Linked DNA regions of Homo sapiens: region 1 is linked to region 2. The links are contacts of gene promoters, found by promoter capture Hi-C in blood cells and fetal thymus (Javierre and others, 2016). All regions are on one chromosome and are shown on one strand. The core of a region is centred on a gene start or on the middle of the fragment in contact, and the rest is flanking DNA. Distances in the headings are between cores, read along the strand shown. Region 1 overlaps SMARCA4 (SWI/SNF related BAF chromatin remodeling complex subunit ATPase 4). Region 2 holds the start of SHFL (shiftless antiviral inhibitor of ribosomal frameshifting).

Region 1 (6,344 bases), core at 151-2,650, 880 kb after region 2:
CACAGTGTCGCGAGGCCGTGGCAGCGGCGGCCCCCGCGGAGCGGCGGGGTGGGTGGGGGGCCCGGGCCGCGTGGAGGCCGCGCGATCCTCTCCGCGCGCGCTCTCGCCGGGGTCGCCGGACAAAGCTCGCCCCCCTCGCCCGGCACCCCTACAGTCGCCCTCCCAATTACAGCGGCTGCAACAATAGGCAGGCGTTGGGGCTTTTCTGGCTGCGTGGTAACGGGTCCGACCCGAATGTTGCGTTTTTGGCGAAGCTGCGATCGGGGCTCAGCCAAACCTCCAGATATGTCCGGCGTCGGCCGGACACGGGCATTAGCGGTCCCCTTGGGCTAGCCGACCTCAAATTGTCTTAAAAACGTGTCATTCCAGATTTTCAAGGAAAGGTAAAGGACTCCCCCGATGCCTTGCAGTTAGTGACTTCAAAATGTTTGCCCGAATTGGGGTTGGGGATGGGGTCGGCGGCAAGTAGGGGAGCACGGAGGAAATCCTTTGCTGTGTAAAAGCATTGCTTTTCTTTTGCATCCTTTTTTCTCCTTCCCAATTGGTTTTTCAGATTAAGGCTTTTATTTTCAACGTGGACCTTTTGGGCGAGTGTTTTGTCCCGATCTTGAAGATACCAGTCTTGATTTTTTTTTTTTTTTTTTTTGGTCAGTGACTCCTTGGGGAAAGTAGCAAGGGAATAAGCGGAAAAGCCGCTTCGCAGGAATTTGAAGCAAGTTTTCAGTTTGGATTGATAGGCTGCATTCAAGCTTGATTCCTGGTGCTGTCAGTCACTTAGCACACTGTCACTTTAGGGAAGTGGCTTAACCTCTCTGAACCTCTTAGTTTTCCTCCTTTGTGAAAGCTCCTTTGTGAAAGGGGGTAATCTCCCAAATGGAATTGGTGAAAGCCTGTAAAATGGTTCCTCGCAAGCGGGAAGCACTATTGTAATTGTCTGGTCCAATCTCCCTCATTGTTCAGCAGATAACTTCTTGAGGCCCTACTAAGTGTTGGATGGTCGGGGGTTGGATCCTGGAGCCTCTGCAGTCTTGGAGGGGAGCGGGTGGTAAATGTGGGAACAAACTCTCTTGGCCTATCGTTTATTGCTCTGAACCTGCACTGTGAGAGGGACACAGCGGACAGGCAGGGGATCGGTGGTAGCCAGAGATCACGGGGGCTGCTTGGAAGAGGGGGCCTCAAAATCAGGGAGGGTGTGTAGGATTGTATTTTGTTTTTGAGGCAGAGTCTTGCCTGTCGCCCAGGCTGGAGTTCAGAGTCCCAATCTCCGCTCACTGTAACCTCCGCCTCCTGGGTTCAAGCGATTCTCCTGCCTCAGCCTCCTGAGTAGCTGGGACTACAGGCGCCCGCCACCACGCCTGGCTAATTTTTGTATTTTTAGTAGATATGGGGTTTTACCATGTTGGCCAGGCTGGTCTCAAACTCCTGACTTAAGGTGATCCACCCACCTCGGCCTCCCAAAGTGCTAGGACTACATGTGTGAGCCACTGCGCCAGGATTGTATTTTGACTTTCCCTGGCCACCTCGGACTAGCCATTGTTCCCCTCAGCTACATTCATACATCAACTTGGTCCTTTCCGGTGTAGCTGTCACCCCCAGCACCGTGAGAGCTGGGGTTGTGTCTGCCTGGCTGGCCCCACAGTACCCTGGGCCTGACACATAGTAGGTCTTTAGCGAACTTATGTGGATTGAATGAGGGGGTCCTGTGGAAGATCGCGTGACCATCTGTGTAAAAGGCTTGGTGCAGGGCCAGGTGCAGTGGCTCATACCTGAAATCCCAGCACTTGGGGAGGCTGAGGCGGGAAAATTGCTTGAACCCGGGAGTTTGAGACTAACCTGGGCAACATAGTGAGACCTCATCTCTACAAAAAATACAAAAATTAGCCGAGTGTGGTGGCATGCACCGGTGGTCCCAACTACTCAGGAGGCTGAGGTAGGAGGACTGCTTGAGCCAGAGAGGTGGAGGCTGCAGTGAGCCATTCTTGTGCCCCTGCATTCCAGCCTGTGCACCAGAGTAAGACTGTCTCAAAAAAAAAAAAAAAAAAAAAGAAAAAGAAAGCTTGGTGCAGGACTGGGGGTGGATTGTAAGGGATACAGGTTAGTTGTTTGAACAGTTTTTGCACTTTCCAAGCCATTGTTTCCTGAACCTCAGTTGTCCTCATCTCCCCTACAAAGTGTGGGGTGGTGGTTAGCGTGGGGTGGTGGTAAGGAGTACTCATTCTGGAATCAGACCTCCTGAATTCACACCCAGCTCTCTAAATCGTAGCTTAACCTCAAGCGAGGCGCTTAGCAGTAGGGCCCCCCACTTGTGAAACAGGTAGGACGAGGATGCCCGAAACTTCACAGGCTTCTTGTGAGGGTTGAATGAGGTCACATGGGAAGCCGCTAACACACTGCTGCACCTGATGCGTAGTGAACACTTGATTTTTTTTTTTTTTTTGAGACGGAGTCTCGCTCTGTCATCCGGGCTGGAGTGCAATGCCCCTGTAGTCCCAAGCTCCTTGAGAGGCTGGGGCAGGAGGTACAGGCTGCAGTGGACCATGATTGAGCCACTGCACTCCAGCCTGGGTGACGAAGCGAGACCCTGTCTAAAAAAAGGAATAAAAATTAATTCATGCATAGTTAGGAAAGTAATAAATGGTTTTGCATGGGCCACCTAAAATCATTTTGTGTCCAGCCCTTTAGGAGACGTAAATGTTGATCGTGCAGGCTTTTGAGCAGGGGAGGTGATGTCATCAGAATTGTGATATAGGGCAGTGCAGTGGTCTCTAAACTTCTTGTCAGTGAGGAGCATTCCAACATATGTGTATTTATTTACAATTTATTTGTGTACCTTTGCTTCTCCTTGGGAACCCTCAAAACACCAGGAGATAACCTTAGACCATTCCATGTTTTGGCTGTTTGTGGGAGGTGGGAGCATGGGAGGGACTAGGGTTTTGGGCAGATGTCTGGTGGAACTTTCTTTCTTTCTTTCTTTTTTTTTTGAGACGGAATCTTACTCTTGTTGCCCAGGCTGGAGTGCAATGGCACGATCTCGTCTCACTGCAACCTCTGCCTCCCGGGTTCAAGCGATTCTTCTGACTCAGCCTCCTGAGTAGCTGGGATCACAGGTGTGCACCACCACACCTGGCTAAGTTTTGTATTTTTAGTAGAGATGGGATTTCATCATGTTGGCCAAGCTGGTCTTGAACTCCTGACCTCAACTGATCCACCCACCTTGGCCCTTGGCCTCCCAAAGTACTGGGATTACAAGTATGAGCCACCGCGCCCGGCCTCTTTTTTTTTTTTTCTTATGAGACAGAGTCATTCTGTCGCCCAGGCTGGAGTGCAGTGGTGCGATCTTGACTCACTGCAACCTCCGCCTCCTGGTCTCAAGCGATTCTCATGCCTCAGCCTCTGGAGTGGATGGGACTAAGGACGTGCACCACCATGCCCAGCTAATTTTTGTATTTTAGTAGAGACCGGGTTTCACCATGTTGGCCAGAACTCCTGGTCTCGAACTCCTGGCCTCCTGTAATCTGCCCACCTCGGCCTCCCAAAGTGTTGGGATTATAGGCGTGAGCCACCGTGCCCAGCCAGTCTGGTGGAACTTTCTATCAGTAAGGAAACTGAGGCCTAGGGTTATTTTCTTTCCACAAGGGTTGTCAAGTCAACCACCTGGGTTTGACTCCTGGTTTTGTCTTTCCATCCCTCGGTCATCAAGGCTGCCATGGCACAGAAGGACCCATTCATGGTGCCTGTAGACAGAACACAATGTGAATAGTGCCCCCTGGAGTTGTGCAAGAAATGACCCAGCCACTCTTCCCCATTTATGTGGCGAACAAGCATGCATTGAGCGCCTGCCATGTGCCAGGCACTGCTGGGGAGCTGGGGATTCCATGGGGAACAGGCAGACAAGGGTCCTGTTCTTAGTAGCTCACACCCCACTCTTGACTTGCAAAGGGGGACAGTACTAGTACCCAGCTTGTAGGATTGCTGCAAGAGCTGAACAACCAGTGACAAATGCGAAGTGCTTAGAATGGTGCCTGGCACATAGTGCTAAACAGTTGTTAGTGCTCATCATTTATTAGGATTCCTGCAACAGCCTGGTGGGATGACACAGATAATATACTTTTTCCTCTAGTCATAAGTTCTGTATGTTTCAAAGTGGTAGCAAAGGAGTCAGCTCCTCCATTTTGTCCTTAATGGCTGCACATTGTTTAACAGCAGGGATGCATTCTGAGGAATGCGTTGTGAGATGATTTTGTGGTTGCGTGAAGATGATAGAGTGTGCTTACACACGTCTAGATGGTGGAGCCTAGTCCACATGTAGGCTCTGTGGTATAGCCTATTGTTCCCAGGCTATACACCTGTACAGCATGTCACTGTACCGATTATTGTAGGCAGTTGTGACCCGATAGTATTTGTGTATCTAAATATATCTAAACAGAAAACGTATGGGAAAAATACAGTATTATGATCTTTAAAAAATTTTTCTAATTAGACAATTCAAGGAGGAAGGTATAATCTTATGGGACTATTGTATATTTGGTCCATCATTGACCAAAATGTTATGTGGTGAAGAAAACCATGCTTTGAAATTTCACCATAAGGCATTGGAAAAGGGAGAGTGTGTTTAGTGGCATGGTTTTTTTTTTTTTTTTTTTTTTTTTTTTTGAGGTGAAGTTTCGCTCTTGTTGCCCAGGCTGGAGCACAATGATGCGGTCCTGGCTCACTGCAACATCCGACTGCAGAGTTCAAGCAATTCTCCTGCCTCAGCCTCCCGAGTAGCTGGGATTACAGGTGCCCGCCACCATGCCTGGCTAATTTTTTGTATATTTAGTAGAAACGGGGTTTCACCATGTTGACCAGGCTGGTCTTGAACTTCTGACCTCAGGTGACCCACCTGCCTCAGCCTCCCAAAGTGCTGGGATTACAGACGTGAGCTACCGCGCCCGGCCAGGTTTTTAAAAATATCAAATGTTCAGCCGAGTGTGGTGGCTCATGCCTGTAATTCCCACACTTTGGGAGGCCCAGCAGGGCAAATCACTTGATCCCAGGAATCCAAGACCAGCCTGGGCAGCATGGCGAAACCCCGTCTCTACAGAAAAGTTAAAAAATTAGCCAAGCATGGTGTTGCACACCTGTAGTCCCAGCTACTTGGGAGGTTGACGTGGGAGGATCAAGCCGAGGAGGTGGAGGCTGCAGTAAGCTGTGATCGCACCACTGCACTCCAACCTGGGTGACACAACAAGACCCTATCTTAAAAAAGCCGGGGGTTGGGCTGGGCGCGGTGGCTCATGCCTGTATTCCTAGCACTTTGGGAGCCGAGGCGGGCGGATCGCCTGAGCTCAGGAGTTCAAGACCAGCCTGGGCAACATTGTGAAACCCCGTCTCTACGAAAATACAAAAGAAATTAGCTGGGCATGGTGGTGTGCGCCTGTAGTCCTAGCTACTTGTGAGACTGAGGCAGGAGAATTGCTTGAACCCGGGAGGCCAAGGTTGCAGGGAGCCGAGATCGTGCCGCTGCACTCCAGCCTGGGCGACAGAGCAAGACTACGTCTCTACAAAAGAAAAAAAAAAAGCCGGGGGTTGGGAAGGATAACAGCTGCTGGAATACTGGGGGAAGGTATGAGAGGGAACAGGTCAGAATGAAGCCTGAGGCTGAATGGAGCTTCAGGTGCTGCCACCCTCATAGGTGTCAACCCTAAGGAGACATAGCGGACTCATTAGTATGCCCAGTGATTTCTTGATTGAAGTTTTCTGTTAACTGCATCCTAAGGACATTAATCATTAATTTTTCAGGGTGTGGGATTGATGGGCATGTGATTTGTGGCCTCAACTCTTCTTCATATATGGGAAAGGGCCTGGATGGAAGTGCCAGGTGTAGCTGGGTTTGTTGTTACAGGGCAGAGAGAAGGGACACATTGATTTCCCTCCAATTCCCTCAGGGAAGGGGGCTTTCTTGTTTTTATTTTATTTTATTTTATTTTATTTTTTGAAATGGAGTCTTGCTCTCTCTCTGTCGCCCAGGCTGGAGTGCAGTGGCACGATCTCAGCTCACTGCAAGCTCCCCCTTCCGGGTTCACGCCATTCTCCTGCCTCAGCCTCCTGAGTAGCTGGGACTACAGGCGCCCGCCACCACGCCCGGCTAATTTTTTGTATTTTTAGTAGAGACGGGGTTTCACCATGTTAGCCAGGATGGTCTTGATCTCCTGACCTCGTTATCCGTCTGCCTCAGCCTCCCAAACTGCTGGGATTACAGGCGTGAGCCACTGCGCCCGACTGGAAGGGGGCTTTCTTTAGAAAATAGGTAAATGTTAGTAGGGTGGAAACCAACCCTGGCCCCTTTCAAATGTGTGGTTTTT
Region 2 (5,628 bases), core at 523-3,022:
ACCCTATAAACAAAGCTTTGGGGTTCAACTGGAAAAACTTTAGAATATCTAGATTTGGGGGGTTTTATTGTTTGTTTTTTAGTCTTTTAAAAATAACTTTTTCCTTTTCTTTTTTCTTTTTTTAAAGACAAGGTCTTGCTATGTTGCCCAGGCTGGTTTTGAACTCCTGACCTCCAGTGATTCTCCCACCTTGACCTCCCAAAGTGCTAGCATTACAGGTGTGAACCATCATGCCCAGCTCCATTTATCTATCAATATTTTATATAACAGTTAACAGAATATATTGATATAATTGTATTTGTATATAATTTATAAATAATATCCATCTTTGAGGCCAGGAGTTTGAGACCAGCCTGGGCAACATAGTGAGACCCCGTCTCTACAAAAAAAATAGAAAATTAACCAGGCATAGTGGCATATGCCAGTAGTCCCAGCTACTTAGCAGGCTGAGGCAGGAGGATCGTTTGAGCCCAGGAGTTAGAGGCTGCAGTGAGCCACCATCAAACCACTGCACTCCAGCCTGGGCAACAGAGCAAGATCTTGTCTCAAAAAATAAATAAATGAATAAATATCCATCTGGGGGTGTAACTTTAACACTTTTACCTATAGGGGTGTGCAATGGAGAAAAAAATTTGGAGTCGTTGAACACAATGCTATTTTGCTCCTCAGAGAGTATCCGGCAGTCTCTGGAGACGTTTTTGGTAGTCACAACAGGGAGAGTAGGGAACCACTGGCATCTAGTGGGTGGAGGCCAGGGATGGTGTTAAATGTCCCCCAATACACAGGACAGTCCCCCACACAAAGAACTAGGCCGCCCAAAGTGTCAAGAGTGCTGGGCTTGAGAAGCCATTGCCCAAAAACCCCAGACTTAGTCTTGCTTTGGGGGCTCTGCACGGCTGCCTCATCTCCCCACTCTATTCCTCCCCTAGCTAAGACCTCCAATTTCAGTGACTCTACAAAGCATCCCCTCCTCCAATGAAGTTGCCATCTCTGTGTCCCCAGGCTGGGCCAGAGCCCCACCACCTAAGGGCTCCCTGATGTGCCCTGTACTGGGTTAGAATTGTCCGTCCCACGGGGTTCTTAACCATTGCAGATTCCCTGGATCCCTGAGACAGCCGGATTCTACCGGGCTACTAGAGACCAAGAATCTGTATTTTTCTCAAGCACCGCTCCCCCCAACCACACACACACTGCCTGCCCCTATCAAGGGCACACAGCAGGTGGCCCAGTGACTAGTTGAACGCCTACTGCAAGCCAGGCGCTATTACGCGATCCACTCGGGAATCTTGGCACATACTCCACTCCATGGTGTAGACACCAGGATTCTCCCCATTTCACAGAGGGGTAAACTGAGGTTGAGAGAGGTGACCGTAGCTAGGACAGAGACTCAGGGCAGGAAAAGGGCCCAGGTCCTCATGAGCGCCAGATTCCCGGGGAAGGAGGGAGAACAGAGAGGAGGGTGATGAACTGGGGGAGCGCGCGCTGGGTGGGGGGGCGCGGGGCCTCGCCGCGGCCTTCTGATGCGGCCCCGCCCCCACGAGGGACGTGAAGACGCGGACCCCGCGCAGCGTGGGGACATGTGACCGACTGCAGAGGCCGCGCCGCCTCCCCCGTCCGAGGTCTGCGCGCTCCGCCGCAGGGTGCAGACCCGGGGCGCCCGCCTGGGTTTGGGGCGCAAGAGCAGAGGCGGAGCCAGGGCGGAGCCAGCGCGCCGGGTCCCCCCTGAATCGAAAGCGAAACAGGGGCCGGGGAGGAAGGGCGGAGCCGGCCCCGAGGCACCGCCCCCTGCCCTGCGCGGCTGCTGGACCGACGGGCGCACCCAGGTAGGGGGGCGGCTGAGCCGCGCAGTGCGGACCCTCGCGGGGAACTGCGCCGCCGCCACCATGTCTCAGGAAGGTGTGGAGGTAAGCGATGGCTACGGCTGGGCCGGGGTCAGCCGCGACAGACCCCGAGGAGCGGCCGGGAGGCGCGGAGGGGGCTTCGCAGTTCCTGGGGACCCCCATCCTAGAACCCCAGATCCTTACCCCTGCCTGGCGCTCGCCCCCCTTGAAAAGGAAAGTGACTCCCACGTTTCCCCAGAGCGAAATGAGGCCTCCCCGAGGAAAAGCGGGGGCTGCAGGGTCAAAGGTCAGAGGCCAGAGATAACCTGGCCGCCCCCCCACACCTTAGGCTGGGACGCTCGCCCCAGTCCGCGCCTTCCCCCAACGCCCTGTGGGGACTTTGGCTTTTTCCAGGAAATGCCGTAAAGGGATGAAAGGCGGGGGGGGGGCGGCGGAGGCCAAAACCAAGGGTCAAGTTCGGGCCGGGAGAACGGTGCCTAGAGATGGGGGAGGGATGATCCCGTTTCCCCTTCCCCCACCGGAACCCCCCTGTCTCCATCCCAGCTGGAGAAGAGCGTCCGGCGCCTCCGGGAGAAGTTTCATGGGAAGGTATCCTCCAAGAAGGCGGGGGCTCTGATGAGGAAATTCGGCAGCGACCACACGGGAGTGGGGCGCTCCATCGTGTACGGTGAGGCTGCAGGGGTCCCGGGCCTGGTGCGGGGACCGCGCGTGGGAGCGCCGAGGGGGCGTGGTCTAGGGAGAGGCGTTGAGATCACCTCCCCCGGAGGTCCCAGCCTTGGGGAGGCTCTGCGTCGCGGCTCTGGGTGGCCTGGAACTCCCACAGACCCTTCAAGGGCCCTTCCCTTATATGCACTCTCCCCCGCAGGGGTAAAGCAAAAAGATGGCCAAGAACTAAGTAACGATCTGGATGCCCAGGTAACCTATCCCCTCCCCTCGCAAAGGACCGGGTCACGGGAGGGAGAGCAAGAGGGGGGACCCGACCCGTTCATGGTGACTGACCCCCCTCTGAAACAGGAGGGACCAGGCATTGTCGGTCCATAACTCATCACCCAATCTCACTTTTTCACCTCTCCATCATTTGTCCGGCCAGGGAGCCTGCAAACAGTAGGCGCTCATTATGTGCTGATTGTATTCAATGGGGGAGAGAGCCATGAAACTAAGCAATGAAAGGAGCCAGGATTATTGCCATCATAGCGGGGGCGCAGAGGTCAGAGAAGGCTTACTGGAGGAGGAGGTACCAAGTCTTAAAGGATGGGGAGGAGTGAGCCCTGGGAGGGGAAAGGGAAAGAAAGGCAGGGGTCTTGGGGTGGGGGAGGGAATGGCATAAGCAAAGGCTGGGAGGTGGGGAAGGGTTGTTAGTGGCAGTCTCTAGAAAGGCTAGGATGAGCAGAGGATTGGGGAGGAGAGAGAGGCAGGGGAATGGAACCCTTGTGTTGAATGAATGAATGAATGAATGAATGAATGAATGAATGAATGGCTTTGAAGCACAGGTGCATCATGGCTACTTTGCTTCTTTGACAGCTTTGGTGATGGGAACGCTGTGGATTTAGCCTGCCTGAAAGGCTTAGTGTAGGGCTGTTAAAGAGTATAATAGGCCAGGCGCGGTGGCTCACGCCTGCAATCCCAACATTTTGGGAGGCCGAGGCGGGCGGATCACCTGAGGTCGGGAGTTTGAGACCAGCCTGACCAACATGGAGAAACCCGTCTCTACTAAAAAATACAAAATTAGCTGGGCATGGTGGCGCATGCCTGTAATCCCAGCTACTCGGGAGGCTGAGGCAGGAGAATCACTTGAACCCAGGAGGCGGAGGTTGCAGTGAGCTGAGATCACACCATTGCACTCCAGCCTGGGCAACAAGAGCGAAACTCTGTCTCAAAAAAAAAAAAAAAAAAAAAATGCCGGGCGCGGTGGCTCACGCCTGTAATCCCAGCACTTTGGGAGGCCAAGGCGGGCGGATCATGAGGTCAGGAGATCGAGACCATCCTGGCTAACATGGTGAAACCCCATCTATACTAAAAATACGAAAAAAAAAATTAGCCAGTTGTGCTGGCAGGCCCCTGTAGTCCCAGCTACTCAGGAGGCTGAGGCAGGAGAATGGCGTGAACCCGGGAGGCGGAGCTTGCAGTGAGCCGAGATCGCACCACTGCACTCCAGCCTGGGCAACAGAGCGATTCTCCGTCTCAAACAAACAAAAACAAACAAAACCAGAGTATAACAAAACATGTATCATAGTCTACATTTATACATATAAAAGTATGATAAAAATGATAGCAGAGGGGCCAGGTGTGGTGGCTCACGCCTGTAATTCCAGCACTTTGGGAGGTTGAGGCGGGCAGATCACTTGAGGTCAGGAGTTCGAGATTAGCCTGGCCAACACGGTGAAACCCCTTCTCTATTAAAAATACAAAAAATTAGCTGGGCGTGGCAGTGCATGCTTGTAATCCCAGCTACTTGGCAGGCTAAGGCAGAAGAATCACTTGAACCTGGGAGGCAGAGGTTGCAGTCAGCCAAGATTGTGCCATTGCACTCTAGCCTGGGAGACAAGAGCGAAACTCCGTCTCAAAAATATAATAATAATAATAATAATAATAATAATAATAATAATATTAGCAGAGAGTAGCATTCATTGAGTACTTCCCACATGGCAAGATTCCAGGAATTTATTTATTTCATCACTGCAGTGACCCCAGGAGACAGGTCCTATTATTTATCCCCATTTCACAGACAAAGAAACTGAGGCCGAAGTCACTTGCCAGCAAGCAGGGGCAGCTGCGATTTGAACCCTGGCCACCTGGAGTCAGAGCCTGGGCTCTAACATGCCTGTCAGTGGGAACCCAGGGGGCAGGGAGTGGCTTGCCCAAGTCCCCACAGCTGGAAGTGATACAGCTGGGATTTGAACCCACATCTCTCTCCCACTTAGCCGAGCACAACGTGGCCTCAAAGGGGCGATATGTCACAACATCAACAAGCATGTGGCATTTGCAGGCAGGAAGTGAGTATGGGGGTCAGGCTAGCCTCACTCAGGCAAGCCCTCCCCTAAGCCTCAGTTTCCCCATCTGAGCAATAAGGTAACAGGTGTGCCCACCTCTCAGGGCTGCTATGAGGACAACTGAGGCCACACACCTGGCTCTCAATAAGTGAGTGGTGCTCTGTGAGCTTCTGGCGAGTTAGGGGCACCCTACTCATTGCGGCCGGGGGCCTCCCCCAGCAAACGGGTGGAAAGAGGCCTGAGCCCCATCCCCAGTTTCTGCCCCTGCTATCTCCACCCAGGATCCACCAGAAGATATGAAGCAGGACCGGGACATTCAGGTGAGTTGGTGGCTAGGGCTTGGGATGGGGGAGTTGGGAGGGGGACATCTGCAGGCACAGAAGGATGTCCATTAGGGCAGGAGGGGAGATATTCACTGGGGCAGGAAGAGGACTCGTCTGTAGGGAGAGGAGGGCTGATGCTTATGTTGGTGCAGAAGGGGTGACACCCCCCCACCTCATCCCCACCTGCCCCATTCCACAGGCAGTGGCGACCTCCCTCCTGCCACTGACAGAAGCCAACCTACGCATGTTTCAACGTGCCCAGGACGACCTTATCCCTGCTGTGGACCGGCAGTTTGCCTGCTCCTCCTGCGACCACGTCTGGTGGCGCCGCGTGCCCCAGCGGAAGGAGGTGATGACCTAAAACTTAACCTCGACTTTGACTGTCCCGAACTCCACTCCTGACTCCTATCCTCAGTGACTGTACCTCTGACCTAAGGATTTCAATCACTGAGAGTCCAATCCCTGACCTCCAAA

The links. Contacts are between HindIII fragments. The CHiCAGO score rates a contact against its expected background, and 5 or more counts as called.
Region 1: a fragment that was not itself captured here is called in contact with the fragment with the promoter of SHFL in region 2 in 1 of 17 cell types (neutrophils); the score reaches 6.0 in neutrophils.

What each region holds. Positions count from the first base shown.
Region 1 is chr19:10,961,347-10,967,690 of GRCh38, forward strand. All of the region lies in intron 1 of SMARCA4 (SWI/SNF related BAF chromatin remodeling complex subunit ATPase 4), which reads left to right. Among named protein-coding and RNA genes, the nearest start is that of SMARCA4, 3.5 kb to the left of the region's middle. RefSeq lists a silencer at 1-51 and an enhancer at 2,569-2,698. The HindIII fragment of the contact is 1,307 bases long and covers 748-2,054 here.
Region 2 is chr19:10,084,545-10,090,172 of GRCh38, forward strand. It overlaps SHFL (shiftless antiviral inhibitor of ribosomal frameshifting), which reads left to right and starts at 1,773. Exons shown (of 8, transcript NM_018381.4): 1 at 1,773-1,904; 2 at 2,385-2,508; 3 at 2,707-2,756; 4 at 5,113-5,151; 5 at 5,354-5,503. The coding sequence starts at 1,884. RefSeq lists silencers at 1,472-1,691, 1,762-2,041. The HindIII fragment of the contact is 8,670 bases long and covers 14-5,628 here.